3 separate regions of the Homo sapiens genome follow, and all the other regions are linked to region 1. The links are contacts of gene promoters, found by promoter capture Hi-C in blood cells and fetal thymus (Javierre and others, 2016). All regions are on one chromosome and are shown on one strand. The core of a region is centred on a gene start or on the middle of the fragment in contact, and the rest is flanking DNA. Distances in the headings are between cores, read along the strand shown.

Region 1 (4,853 bases), core at 1,531-4,030:
AGTTATGTTCTAAATAAATTGAGACTAGCTAAGAAGAGATATCATTTAATGAGCACCTATTCACTACATGTACTTGACATTATTCTATTGAATTTATTCGTTATACAGATTTTTAAAGTAAGCATTTTTTTTTTCCATTTTAGAACTGGATAAAACAGAAACTTCAAATGATTAAATAAACTGCTCAATATCACCCAACTACTCAGGCATGAGAGCTGGAATTTGAAATCAAGTAGGTCTGACCACAAAACCTGGGCTCCTTCCTCTATTAATATTCTTGCCATGTCCTCCCAGGGCTATTGTGAGTAACAAGGAGTATCATATATACAGAATGCACTTTGGAAATTTTAAAGTTCTATACATATATATGGTTTTGGTAACAAGTAATAATCTGTATGAAGATATGGGTATAATTGACCAACCTTTCTTTGAAGAATCAGAACCAAAGGAATTAGCTTTTAATCTCCCTTCCATCCTCATGATCTGACCTTATTTTGAACATTTTCCTTTTCCCCCACAAGGCCCCTGTCTCTCAGGCACACATTCAGTCATATCCCAGCCAGCTCACCACAATGCATGTACATGGAACAAGCTGATAGAAGCAGGTGATCCCATCCTTTACTAATGCTTGGTGCGGGAGGTACTTAAGTGGGCACCACTGGGCTCTTATCTTCCATCAAGATGTATCACACTCTGTTCTCAAGCACTTACCAATACTGCATACAAATGCTATGGCCTGTGAAGGAGGCAGCCAACTACAAATGCTGGACACTCAATTTAAGGACGCATGGCAAAGCCAGTAGATAGTAGTAAATTATTGCATGAAGTTCATCAGAATAAAATCAATTGTCATGAGAAGGGTTAAGGGTGTGGGAGGGAATCCATTTAACTTTAAAATACCAATAATACAGGAAGACTAGTGTGGGCATGTGAATGTCTGTGTGTTCGTGTTTAAATAAGGCAAGTTTGTGTCCAGAAAGGTTTGCATTTAGCAGCATCTCTGTACAATCCAAAAGAAATATATGAGAATTTTGTTTGTTTTCTGATACTAGATGAAAAATGTAAGGTTGCTCGACTGACCTAAGAGAGCAAGGATAGAAGGCTTAGAATAATCTGTAACACAGCTGCAACTTCCAACTTTGTCTTCTTGTCTTTCTGCCTCTCACCCATTTCAAGACCCTCTTTGTCAATAAAGGATGTCTCAGATCAGGGCAGTTCACAGGCCTGAGGTTTGACCTAAAAACTAGTAGGAAATTCATATCACCGAGAAACATCAATTTTACATTTCGAGCTAAGCATCCATGATCCACATCACATATGGACAACATTCAGAAAATTCTTATTATAAAAGAGTTGCTCAAATTCAAAAGAAGAAAGACACCACATTTACAGATTTTTTTAAAATGCCTCTGTAAGATGGTATGAAATCACCTTTCTGAAAACCCACTGTCTGCAAGGTTACTATGTAACAATATTTACAATAGTTGCCATTGGTTTTGAACCAACCAGATGCCAGGCCAGGCACTGTGCTAAACATGCTACTTGAATGATCCCATTTCATCCTTCCAACTACCCAAAGGGCTCATTGTGACCATTATAAATCTCCATTTTTTGGCTGGAAAAAAAAAAAAGGAAGAAAGAAAGAAAAGAAAAACCCAGTATCGGAAAGGTGAGATAACTTGCCCAAGTTCACACTGCTAATACATGGAAGAGCTGGAGTCAAAACTCAAGTCCTCTTTCTCATCCAGTAGCTAAACCAGGGATCTGTACAGCAGAGCAGCAGAATGCTTCGCGTGGCGCCCTGGTTCACAATTTCACAACCAGAAGGTGGAGGGAAGACAGGCTGTGGGCTAGCTCTTAAAGGAAACAGCCGAAGTTTGCTTTTATGTTTGTGATTTTCTCTTTAACTCAGCTTCCTTGCTCCCTCTCAGTATTTAGAAGAGGGAAGGGGCTCTATGGTTCCATGAAGTCAGCTCTTCCCAAGTGAGGGGCACCCTGTGCCCCACAGGGCCACTAGCTCCGCTTCCTCCGGGGCTGGGAAGAAACAGTACCATAGGAGGTCACTGGCGCCCGGGCCTCGCTCCTCTCTCCCCGCGCTCCTCCAGAAGCTGGTCCGACACCCTCTGAAGGGGCATCTTTCTGAGAAAGCAGGTCAGGGGAAGAGGGAGTGAGGCTGCAAGCAGCATTTTCCCAGGCTGTCACAGCTCTGCGCTGAGAGCGACGTGATACCGAGTGGGCGTGCTGGGACACACCGCTTCCTTCTGTCCTCGGCGCTTCCAGCAGCGGTCTGGAGAAACCAAGGAGGAGATGGGGGCGGGGGGTGGTAGCGGGGAGGGGGCGGTGAGGAGGAAAACAAGGGTAGACCCCTCAAAGGGCTGAGGATGGGGGCGGCAACGAGCAGACGTCCCACAACCGCGTTACTTAAATCCCTGCAAAGCAAAGATGGGTCTCTGAACGTTTGGGTTCGAATCCGGGCTCCAGTCCTAACTAGCAGTATGACCTATCCCAGCCGCTGCCTCGTTCTGTGCCTCAGTTTCCTCTTCTGTAAAGTAGGAGGGTTTAACGATAGGATCTCTAAGAATCCGTCTACCCTGAGATTCTGCGGCTTGGTGACTTCTGAGCCCTCACGGCGGCGCGAGACTCACCTTTCTTGGGAAGCTGAGAGGGCGCAGCAAAAGCAGCCGGGATGGGTGCAGTGTCGCCGGGCACTGCTTCCTTCCGCGCCTCTGGCCAAAGCGGACCCCGGAGACCTGGATCCCGGCAGTCTTCCCCAGTGAGCCTCTTACTTTCCGCCGCACTTTCTTTTCCCCCTTTGGGGCTCCTCCCCCGGAGCGGCGCGATTGGCCACGGCCTCACGGCTCAGGCTCCACCCGCCGCCTTGGCTCGCGATCCACCGGCGCTCTGGGCTTCCAGGAGCTGCGGCCGCGGGGCGGCGTCCTGGACGGTCCCGCCCGCCGCCAGGAGGCGCGGCGCCGGGCCCGCCTGCGGACGGATGCAAGGCTGCGCTCGGCCCCTTCGGCTCCCTGCCACCGCCTGTGCGGGCTTGAGCGCGCGGGGAAAGGAGAGGGTTAGTCCTGCAGCGCAGCTCGGCACGCTGCCAGGCGCTGTGGGAAGCTACGCCCCTCACTACACACCGAGGCGCACACATGCGCTCATTGCAAGATCGTGCTCTCGCAGTTGAGATCGGTGCCACCCTGCCCTTTCTTCCTGTCTCGACGTATTTAGCAATCATGCTGCAAGGCCTTGAATCAATTCAGACTGCACGATTTTCGCAACCACCCTGTGCCGGCACAGAGCGCGGCAGGATGTAGATGCGATCTCCGCAGTCCTGAGCTCTTGCTGTCTTGAACTGACATTCATATGAGCAAGCAACAGGACATGACAGCAAGACTAAATCTGTATTGTCCACTGGTAATATACCCATTGCCTAGCACAGTGCCTGGCACAAAGTAGGCACTCAATACATGTATGGGGAACGAATAAAAGAACTAATAGGTTACATAGAAGGAAATAATCTCAAAACAAATATTTGCCTTCATTCATTTCCATTTCCCCAAGTTTTTGCAAGAGCCTTCCTTCAGCTGCCCTCTGCCACTGTAGATGGTAGTCTGTAATATATCCCGGGAAGCGTTATAAAGGCTTTCATTAAGTCATCTCTCTTGTTCAGGCACCTTCTGCTGTGTTCCTACTGCTAGTGCCTCATGATTTTTCCTGACTGGCAAGGCCCTTCATGACCTGTCCCCATTTCTGAAACCCCCTAACCAAAGCCACCTACCAGACTGACGAGTCTTCGCACATCTTCTTGCTCATCACATCTTCTTTTCTCCTCCTCCTACCTAACTGAATCCTACTAATTTATTTTCAAGAATCAAGATTCAGAGAAAGCATTTAAGGAAAAGGAGAAAAAAGATGTGAAATAAGAAAAGGGCCCAGGTGAGTGGGAAGGAAATGAAACCAGCAGGTGCCCGTGCTGCTAAAGGTGCACAGCAGTACGAAACTCAGAGGCTGCCCCTGCCCTGGCGGAGCTTCAGTTCCTAAGGTGAAATATCAGTGTAATTGGAGCCATAGAAATGTTCATGATACTTTACTTCTTGACATCACTTATGAAAATTAATTGCTCAAAATTTTTATTTATCTCAGGATACCTGGGACCCAGCACCTGCTCACAACATTGTCACTGAACCAAAGAGAAAATAATCCAAAAGAATTTAAAATGTTACCTGTATGAAGCAACAATAAAACATTTTCTGATTTATTATTCATTCCTTAAATATATTCTGGGCACAGACTTTTATATATATATAGTACACTGAAGCATTTACACAGTGCTTACAAAATAAAAAGGTGCAATCATAAGGACTTTGTGTATATTAATTCAGGTAACCCTCAATACAACCTGGAGGGTGCTATTATTATCTCCAGTTCATAAAGGAGATAAAGGGAATTTAAATAACTTGACCAAGGCTACAGGCCTACAAGTGGAGAATACAAAATGAGACTAGAGACACTCGACGTTCATGCTCTCAGCCGCTACTCAGTCTCATGTACTACCTAGAAGCCAAACAGATGCTAGTAATTCAGAATTGAACCAGATGTATATTCCCGGACATTGAAGGGCTACTCATAGCTTAAGGAAGATAACATTAAGATGAATAATCATATAGACAAATATTCATAGTATATTGTAGTTTGAACACAATATAAATGGTTGGAAATGAAAATGATTAGTTAACCAACGCTGTCTACGCACAGAATAAAATATTTGCATCATAACTATCATATTATGGAAATATGTCTACAAAGAAAAAGGCTTACAAAATAAGGTTGAGTAAAAGTTGTGGAGAGATGAACAC
Region 2 (4,853 bases), core at 1,581-4,080, 3.9 Mb after region 1:
TCTTTCAATATTGGGAAAAATCTGAATATGGTGGACTTATTGAGAAAGAGTATAGTATACATAAACTTGTGTAATGCTAAATGTAATGGTTAATTTAAGAAATTTTTATCGGTAATTTTAACATATGTAGTGTTCTCTTTACATGCTTTTTAGAAGCTAACTTGTTGAAAGAAGCTACTGCTCTACACAAAAATCTTGAGTATGTAATTAAATAAGCTAAAAAAGCATCAGCCTTAGTAAAATCCTAGTGCTTAAGGAGAAGGAAGTTCTAGCCTCTATAAGACCCAAACTAATTTTTGTAAGTAACAAGAGTAACTTGAGATTAACAAAAAAGGTGACCTTCAATCCTACAGGTGGTTTAATCTAATGTTAATTTTTGGTGTTATTAAGAAGCCTTGTATATTAGCATAGCGAAGATGATAACTATATAACTCCCTCTCCCACCAACCAACTCAGGTGAATGAATTCCCTGAATCTTAAATAAAGGCAAGGGGAAAGAACAGGGTGGGGGCTGGGGAAGCTGTTTCTCTTTCTGGTATTCCCTAGGGATCACTTCAGCCAGCCAAATTGATCCTGGCGGGGGGAAAAGATGTCCTAATCATGTTACTCACACATCTTTACAGACCCTAAAAATCTACTCCCCCACCCCAGGCCCCTCAACCAAGCACTAAATGGTGGTAACTACTATATGCAACAGTGATTCTTACTTCTTTTGGGGAAGGGTTCACAGAACCCTTTGAGAATCTGAAGAAAACAATGAACTCTCCCCATAAAAATGCAGATTCGAACATCTTTTTGTTTATAATTTCAGACCTGAAACCCCAGATTAAAGTCTCTTAGTATATGTAATCATCAGGGAATGTGGAAATTCAAATGCTCAATAAAGAGAGGTTCAAAGAGTGAGGAAGAAAGTGTTTATTATTCCAACCACCCAGCACTCCCAGAAAGCAAGAGATAAAGGTCCTCTACCCTAATTCCTTCCCCTAATGCTGGTTATTATAATCACCCTCACTTGTTGATAGCACGAAAGAGAGGCAGCTCTGGGTATGGGAGCAGGAATTTTTCTATCTCTGCTAACAATAATTTTGCTCATTAAGTGGTTTGCAGATTGCAAGGTAGCAAGTAGGCAAGGATGAACTGATTTCCAACACATGTCCCCGTGAATTGTCTGCACTGATTTAACTGATATGGTTGGCTAGATGGAATGTCCTTTCAGTGCCATCAGTCTTTCCTGAAGCTTTGTGAAAATAGAAGACTATCTTCCCACAGGGAGGACAATAATTGATCTTTGGATCAGCTAAATTGTACTGTTCATCAAAAGTTTCTGAACTAGGGAATGAGAATAATTCTTTAATCGCTAAGTGACCCTCTCTCAGACACTAACACTTTGCAGATGGGTAAATTACTCACTGTGAAAAAATGTCTCCATGGGAGCTCTGATGACCATCTTTTAATCCTTCTTCACCATAAGTATCGTACTGTTTCCGTTTCTCACTATCTGACAGAACCTGGGGATAAAAGCCAGTGGAGGAAAAGATCATGAGTTGGTAATATCCAGTTAAGGCACAGTCATATTTATGTTTGTTTTTACTTTGACAGTGGGTCTAAAATTTTAATAGAATGCAGTTTCCATTATGTACTGTATTAAGGCATATTTACAAAGTTATTTTCTCTAAGACTAAATTCTTTGATGCACTGTTCATTCCACATTGCTCCATTCATGTTTTTAATTTAAAGTTCTCAAAACTCGTGTAGTCACTAAAAAATAATACCTGAGATTAGCAATGCAGCTGTGAAGGTCAGGGTGGTGACAGGAAAGAGTTAAGACGGATTCCTCAGGTTTACTTCCCATGCAGTTTGACTTTGGTGCTTATGCTGTTAACCACTATACTGCCTTCAGAACAACTTGGCCCCACAGGTCTATAACACCCCCTACCCAAAACACACACACACAGACACACACACACACACACACACACGCGCGCGCGCGCGCATGTATTAGGAGATTGTCAAGTCAAGGAAATCAAATGACAGGCCCTCCAGAGAGGCCTACACTGATATCTTTTCATCCTCCTTTTTTCATTTTTTGGTATATGCAGAAATCCATTTGTGGAAGAATTTTGCCTGCCATATATATATATGTTTAAGTTTGTAATGTCCTGAGTTTGAAATGCAGAAAGAGTAGTAAGTAAAAATACTCTATGAAGGTTATTCAAGGTCAATTTCATTGCTTGAAATAATTCTTGAAGTTTTAAGTTTCAGAGAACTACATACACAATCATGACTATATGCTTTCTCTCTGTATATTAAAGAATGTAACAACAAAATAAGCTTCCATCCTTTTCAAAATTTGCCTTCAACATGCAAAAAAAAACTTTCTCTTTTATTTAGAGCAATCTGATATATATGCACATATATACTTGTGAAAATTAAATGGCTTTAAAATCTTCCTTTGATATTTATAAACTCCTACTTAGACAAGAGTCTGAAGGAGAGAGTTATTTCAAAACCACACTCATGGTGGCCCAGAAAAAGAGAGGTTCAAAGTAGACGGGGCTTGTTGACTTAAAAGAAAGGCATATTCACACAGGACACATTTTTGGCTTAGGGCCCAAATGAGGTGTAAGGAGTCATGGCAAAAATGTATTAACATTTAAGATATCCTTGAAAGGATAAATAGAAATTGAGTATACAAGAGAGTGAACATTCTTAAAAGCAAAGGCAAATGGGTTATTCCAGAAGTGACCACAGTACTTGATTACAGCCACTATGAAAGAAAAAGGGAGAGGAAAGCATGTTTTCACAAGTATCTTTAGAAAATAGGTACTTTGGGGAAGCAGAAATGGGCACAATTAACTTGAAAAAAAAAAAAACCCTTATTATTAACTGGATCTCCAATATTTTCACTTTTAGTCTACTTCTCTGATCTGATCTTCACAAATAAATGAACCCTGCATTTGAGACTATAAAAAACACCATTTCAAAACCCCCAAAGACTAGTTTTAAGTCAGTTTCTTTTTAGACATCAGAGGCTTCTGTAATAACCCCCTAAAAACTACTCTTGAAGTCATTATCATTTACTTCCTCCTCACTTTTCTTCCATCAAGGAATGCAATTTTATTCTATGGTCTTGGAAACTATTTTAAAAGAAAAAAGGTTTTTAGTTGATTGGCCAACCAATACACAGATTCTCAAGTAATTAAAATGCCAGCAGTGATCCTAGCTCTGTAGAGAAAACAAATTTGTATTCACAAAAGATTCTTCATAACTGTACTCGGATTCTAATTTGTGAACACTAATTTACCTAAGACTAAAGGCAATCAAGCTTGAATGATAAAAAGAAAACAGAAATTTGAACTAGTGGCTAAAAGGATTGTTATAGTTAAATAAGCCACGATTTCATGACTGACCTTTGTATAGCCTGCCTAGGTCATTGATAAAGAACGTGAAGATTCTTTAGAGAGCATGGTAAATTCAGCTTCCCTAGAAAATGTTTTTGAGTATTAGGTTCCTAGCAAACAAGGGGACTATTCATGGAAAATACAGTGCAAAATATAGAATGCATATTATCAACAAGAAACAAAATATTACATATAATTTAGGATGGGCCATTAACCTTCCCAAGTTTATTGATGTGCCTCAGGTTAAGAATTTCTGTCCCTTGGCCAGGCACGGTGGCTCATGCCTGTAATCCCAGCACTTTGGGAAGCCGAGGCGGGTGGATCATGAGGTCAGGAGATCGAGACCATCCTGGGTAACACAGTGAAACCCTGTCTCTACTAAAAATACAAAAAATTAGCTGGGCATGGTGGTGCACAGCTGTAGTCCCAGCTACTCAGGAGGCTGAGGCAGGAGAATGGCGTAAAACCCAGGAGGCGGAGCTTGCAGTGAGCCGAGATCGTGCCACTCTACTCCAGCTTGGCAGACAGAGCGAGACTCTGTCTCAAAAAAAAATAAAAAAGAATTTCTGCCCCATAGGATCCCTGAAGGTGTTGAAAGATGAAAGGACCCCAACAGCTCTTGGGTTCACCTGGGTATAACTCACTGTTTCAATTCCATTGCTTCTTTAATCTAGAGATCTTGGGATTCCTTCCTTTCAAGGTTTGTGTCTTCCTAAAATATTTTTCAATTTGTTTTTAGCCTTCTCAATATACAAGAATTTAAACTTAAATTCAGGAGTTTTAGCTCTATGACTTTTAGTTCAATTAATTTTTTTCTGTGTCCATTTAGAAAATGAGAATAAAAATATGCCTAGCTCTAATATATTTCCTGGTGTCCTAGTGAAGATTAAATGAGATGATACACATGAGAGTGTTTTGATCCCCAGATTAGAGGTTGCAAAATCAAATTAAAACTGTGCTCTGTTTGATTTATGTAAAAAAGAAATTTAACTGAATTAGTTACCAACACTTTTACAAGCAGAACTCATATAAAAAATCTAGATTTTCAACTTTTCTTGAAAAATTAAATCATCCAGGAACATACTGTTTGCATTTGTATGACAAAAACTGGCTGGGGTTGAGTAACAGCTGCTCCCTTGAAATGGGGCCAGAAGGCTTCAGTTTGTCAAAGTCCTCAACAATCCTTATTGCTTCCCAATATGGAGGCAGAATATCTGCTGCCATGTTTTAACTTATACCTGCCCTGCATGTTATTTGTCTAGTTCATATGAACATGCAGGTTTGCAACTCTCATGAAGGCTTTCTTTTTATTTTTGGTTCTAGCTCCCAAACTGATTGAACGACAGACCAATCAGTTGATCTACTTATTAATCTATAATAAGTTCAAGACTAGCCTGGCCAACAGGGTGAAACCCTGTCTCTACTAAAAATACAAAAATTAGCCAGGTGTGG
Region 3 (4,853 bases), core at 1,712-4,211, 3.1 Mb after region 1:
GATTGTGAATACACCAATGGGCACTCTGTATCTAGCTCAAGGTTTGTAAATGCACCAATCAGCACCCTGTGTCTAGCTCAGGGTTTGTGGATGCACCAATCAGCACCCTGTCAAAACGGACCAATCAGCTCTCTGTAAAACAGACCAATTGGCTCTCTGTAAAATGGACCAATCTGCAGGATGTGGGTGGGGCCAGATAAGAGAATAAAAGCAGGCTGCCCCAGCCAGCACTGACAACCGGCTCGGGTCCCCTTCCACGTGGTGGAAGATTTGTTCTTTTGGTTTTTGCAATGAATCTTGCTGCTGCGCAGTGTTTGGGTCTGCTCTGCCTTTATCAGCTGTTAACACTCACCCGGAAGGTCTGCAGCTTCACTCTTGAGCCAGCAAGACAATAAACCCACCAGAAGGAAGAAACTCAGAACACATCCGAACATCAGAAGGAACAAACTCTGGGCACTGTGCCTTTATGAGCTGTAACACTCACCATGAGGGTCGGTGGCTTCATTTTTGAAGTCAGTGAGACCAAGAACCCACCAATTCCGGACACAAAAGCACTGTTTTTGGCACTGGGAAAAGAGTATCCTGTAGCTAAGAAACAATTCCTGCCCCCACAGATGCTCACACCCAGGTGGAGACAGGGAGGTTAGGAGCAGCGTAGGGGAGCACGTGTTTAATGCTCATCTCCTACACCCCATGTATCCTCACCAGTCCCGCGAAGGATTATTCTTGGAGTTTTGCAGGTTAACTGCACAGAAAGCTGGGGTACTTTGTCCAAATCCCCTCAGTTAACGAGCAGTGGAAGTGAGACTTGAACCCGGGTCTGTGTGACTCCAAAACCTGCCATGTGTCCGCCCACCTCACTCCCTGAAGAGAAGCTGAGAATGGCATTTCAGGTTCCAGGCTGGCACACTGGAGCCAGTGTCAGAGGAACCGTAGGGAGATTTCCTGGGTCCTGAGGCAGGAGGTCAGCTGCATGAAGGGATTATCAAACTCTGCCCTCCACTCTGTAAATTATGTGGAAGGGCAAATACGCACAGGTGTGGGGGCCGTCTTTCAGTGGTAGGATACAGAGAATTCCCATTTTGGGGTAAGGGATTGAGATGAGATGACCTTTAAAGACACTTGTAAGTCTAAAACGCGGAGATTCCAGAGAGTAAGCTTTGTCCTCCTGGGGCTTAAATTCAAATAGGGGAGATAGGACAAGCAGGATGCTTACTTAGGTCTTTAGAACACCCGCTACAGCTTCTGTGTCTGAGACAGGATCAGCCTCAGTCTTCCTGGGTTTTCTAGGCTTCCATGTGCCCTGTCAGCGACTCAGAGACACCCTCTCTCTTTCCTTCCCTTCCTGGATACCTGTGTCTATACACATGATATAGGAAGCTCTAAGAACTTGTAATTGGATCCACAGGATGTTAGAGTTGGGAAAACCCTTAGAAATCAACTTATCCCTTTTCCCTTTAATTTTTATACACGAGAAAACTGAGGCTGGGCACCGTGGCTCACGCCTGTGATCTCAGCACTTCGGGAGGCCAAGGAGGGTAGATCACTTGAGGTCAGGAGTTTGAGACCACCTGACCAACATGATGAAACCCCATCTCTACTTTAAAAATTACAAAGTCAGCCAGGCATGATGGCGCATGCCTGTAATCCCAGCTACTTGGGAGGCCAGGGCAGGGGAATTGCCTGAACCCAGGAGGCAGAGGTTGCAGTTAGCCGAGGTCATGCCATTGCGCTCCAGCCTGAGTGACAAGAGCATAACTCCGTCTCAAAAAAAAAAAAAAAAAAAAGAGAAAAGAAAACTGAGACCCAGAGGAATAAGGTCTCTTGCCTAAGGTCACACAGCAAATTAGTGCCAATACAGGGCCTGGCTTCAAGTTCTGCTCTCTTGCTCCACCCATGCATAAATCATTTCTCTACCCTTTCTCTTCACTTTCCGCTGGGTTTAGGATCCCAAGTCCACTCTACTTATTCTGTATCTTCAGAGTGTACCTTCAGAGAGTCCCCTTACCCCTGACACCTCAAATGCTCTGTTTTTCCCAAAAGGTAGCTTGATCCGGCGCATTGCATGCCTTCATGATTTCCTTCTGCCTCTTCTTCATGTGTGCCCTTTGATATACCCAATTGTTCAGGTCAGCCTGGTCCTTTGCATGGGGGTTCAGCAGGAAGATTAAGGGTAACATGTGTTGAAGAAACACACTCAAAGTGCTTTTTCTATTCTGTCACTCAGTAGCAATCAACACAAAAGACTTCTAACCTAATATGTGGGGAGTTTCCTCACCAAGCAAGCAGTCACTTAATTCTGCAGAGGACACCAACTAGATGACCTCTTATTCAATTCAGTTCTAATACTATCTACCCCAACCCAGCATGAGATCCCAAGGGTGGAGGGCCCAGTCCACAAGACTGTTCCCCTACAACTTCAGGCTGGGGCTTGGGGCCAGTTGAAAGCCCCATGTTATTTTACCTGTGCTTCTGACCAACTGGTTATACATTAGGATTCCCTCCTTAAGTTCGATTAATTTGCTGGAGTGGCTCATGGAACTCAGAAGAACACTTACTTATGTGTGCCAGTTTATTATAAAGGTATTAAAGGCGATACAGATGAAGAGATGCATACGGAAAGGTATGGGAAGGGGCATGGAAGCCCACCCTGGGCACACTATCCTCCAGGAGCCTCCTTGTGTTGGGCTATCCTGAAGCTGTCTGAACCCTGTCCATTTGGAGCTTTTATGGAGACTTCATTACGCAGGCATGATTGATTAAACTATGACCACTGGTGATGAACTTAGTCTTCAGCCTTAGAGATTAGGGGATGAGACTGAAAGTCCCAACACTCTAATTCTGCCTGGAACTTTCTGGCGACCAGCTCTCATCCTGAAGCGACCTAGGAGCTGCCGGCCACCTGTCATTTCATTAGCATACAAAAAGATCTCTTCAGAGATTCTAAGGATTTTAAGAGTTGTATGCCAGGAAATGGAGTCAATGATCAAATATATATTTTACAGTATCACTTTGAGATTTGAGGGCTGGATGAAGCCCACTACCTACCTTCCTCATTACCAAGAAGGAACGGAAAAAGAAAGAGAAGGAAAAGAAGAAAATACAGCCCCTTCTGCAACCCTACAGTGTACTTAAGCCACTTGGTGGGTGGTTTGTTTGTTTGTTTGTTTGTTTTCACCAAGGCATTGTAACTCCAGAATAATAGAATTGTGGGACTTGGTCATTGAAAGAGACCTTAGATATCTTGTGACAGCCCCTCCAATTTCACTGAGACCCAGTGAAGAAAATGACTTACCCAAGGAATGCGATGTGATAGTTGCAACCTTCGAGCTTTCAACTGTTGACGGTTTATCCCAGATTGGTTAAACAACTGCTAAGAGACAGCTGGAAAAAAAAAAAAACTGATGAATTCTGAAGAAGCGGGGCATAGCAAAATTTAGATTCTTAACCGTTCAGAGCTGAAATGAATCTACAAGGTCTTATAATCCTGGGATGGCAAACAATGTCTCTCCCCTTTTCTTGTGTAAGACAGACATTGCCAATCAACCTTCTCACCTTTCCCTCGGGGTCTGGGTGTTACTTAAGAATTTCCCTCATCACAGCTTTCTAGGCAGCCACTAGAAACTGATTGGTATATGAAACATTTTTGCCATTTCTGCAATAGTCCAACAAATTACAAAAACTGAAGTCAAGATAGATTTGGGTTAATCAAGGCTTAAGTTCAGTTTTTGGAACCTTAGGCATGTACCCATTTTTGGAATATCATATGACCCATCACAAATAGGGCTAGCACAAAACTTAACACATAGAAATATGTTCTTCTTGGGGACATTTTAGGCTTGGGAAGAAAGGAGGCTAGACAAGAGTGATAAGAATTGGTGGGTATCTGACTGAAAGAGATGAACGTCTATGGCACTTGGCTGGCAAGGCCAGCTCTTACCCCAGGACACTTGTCCAACCTCTGTCTTGGTGGCCAACTGCTCTGTAAAAGGTGAAACAAGAAGTAAAATGAAGTGTGACACCCAGAGCCAACTGCTACTCAGGCCTAGGGGCTAAGCCTGCTAAGAACACCATTCAGGAGGGCAAAGATTAGATTAAAGGTAACCTCTGAGAAATAGCAAGAAGAAATGTATAAAATCAAAAGAACTAAAATAAAAACTTACAAGTTTCCAAAGGGGCCGTTTGTTTCACAGCTTCTGTGAAAATCTGCTGGGCCTCAGGCCTCTTGAGGCCCATTGTTCAGATGTGGAATTTGCCTCAACAGACAATCATTTGGATATTTTTTAGTAGAAAGAATGTCTGTGAGCTTAATGAAAGCTAAGCCCTGGAGAGGTGACCAGTTGAGACCACTGCAAATAGAGACCCCGACTCCTATTCTTGACAGCCACCTCCTCTATTTCAGCACAAATGGTCTTAAAATCAGAGGCAGGACTTTTTCTGCTCTGTTCCAAGGCTGTGGTGAACATAGGTACCCTACATATGCAGAGTGTTTAATCACCCCCATATCAGGCCAATGTCAGGAAACAAGCAGGCCAAAGCTATACTCTGTAAATGAACTTTTCTCCTGTTCCTGATTCACTTTACCAATCTCTCACTCCTGCCCTCAGGGATCACTTTTCATATTAACTACTTGCAGCAAGTTCTTGCCTCAGGCTCTGCTTTTAAAAGAATTTCAACCAATACAGAGTGCAACTTATTTTCTTTTTCTTCTTCTTCTTCCATGTGTAAAAAAGTCCGTTTCCAGTCTGACTTGTAAGAAGCTTGGAAGTCATCACCCCCATCCTCATAGCAAGAGAAAAGCTGAACGAACTGAAAATCAACAACTCTTCTTTTTTTTATATATATATTTTATT

The links. Contacts are between HindIII fragments. The CHiCAGO score rates a contact against its expected background, and 5 or more counts as called.
Region 2: a contact is called between a fragment that was not itself captured here and the fragment with the promoter of IL1RAP in region 1, in 1 of 17 cell types (non-activated CD4 T cells). The highest score is 7.3, in non-activated CD4 T cells.
Region 3: a fragment that was not itself captured here is called in contact with the fragment with the promoter of IL1RAP in region 1 in 2 of 17 cell types (naive CD8 T cells and activated CD4 T cells); the score reaches 7.4 in naive CD8 T cells.

Annotation. Positions count from the first base shown.
Region 1 is chr3:190,512,012-190,516,864 of GRCh38, reverse strand. It overlaps IL1RAP (interleukin 1 receptor accessory protein), which reads right to left and starts at 2,780. Exons shown (of 12, transcript NM_002182.4): 1 at 2,646-2,780. RefSeq lists enhancers at 1,590-2,089, 2,090-2,591, 3,344-3,433 and a silencer at 2,844-3,193. The HindIII fragment of the contact is 8,413 bases long and covers 1-4,853 here.
Region 2 is chr3:186,572,495-186,577,347 of GRCh38, reverse strand. DNAJB11 (DnaJ heat shock protein family (Hsp40) member B11) reads right to left here. Exons shown (of 10, transcript NM_016306.6): 3 at 1,411-1,508. Among named protein-coding and RNA genes, the nearest start is that of DNAJB11, 4.2 kb to the right of the region's middle. The HindIII fragment of the contact is 994 bases long and covers 2,334-3,327 here.
Region 3 is chr3:187,362,599-187,367,451 of GRCh38, reverse strand. No RefSeq gene overlaps it. Among named protein-coding and RNA genes, the nearest start is that of RTP4, 3.4 kb to the left of the region's middle. The HindIII fragment of the contact is 3,602 bases long and covers 1,161-4,762 here.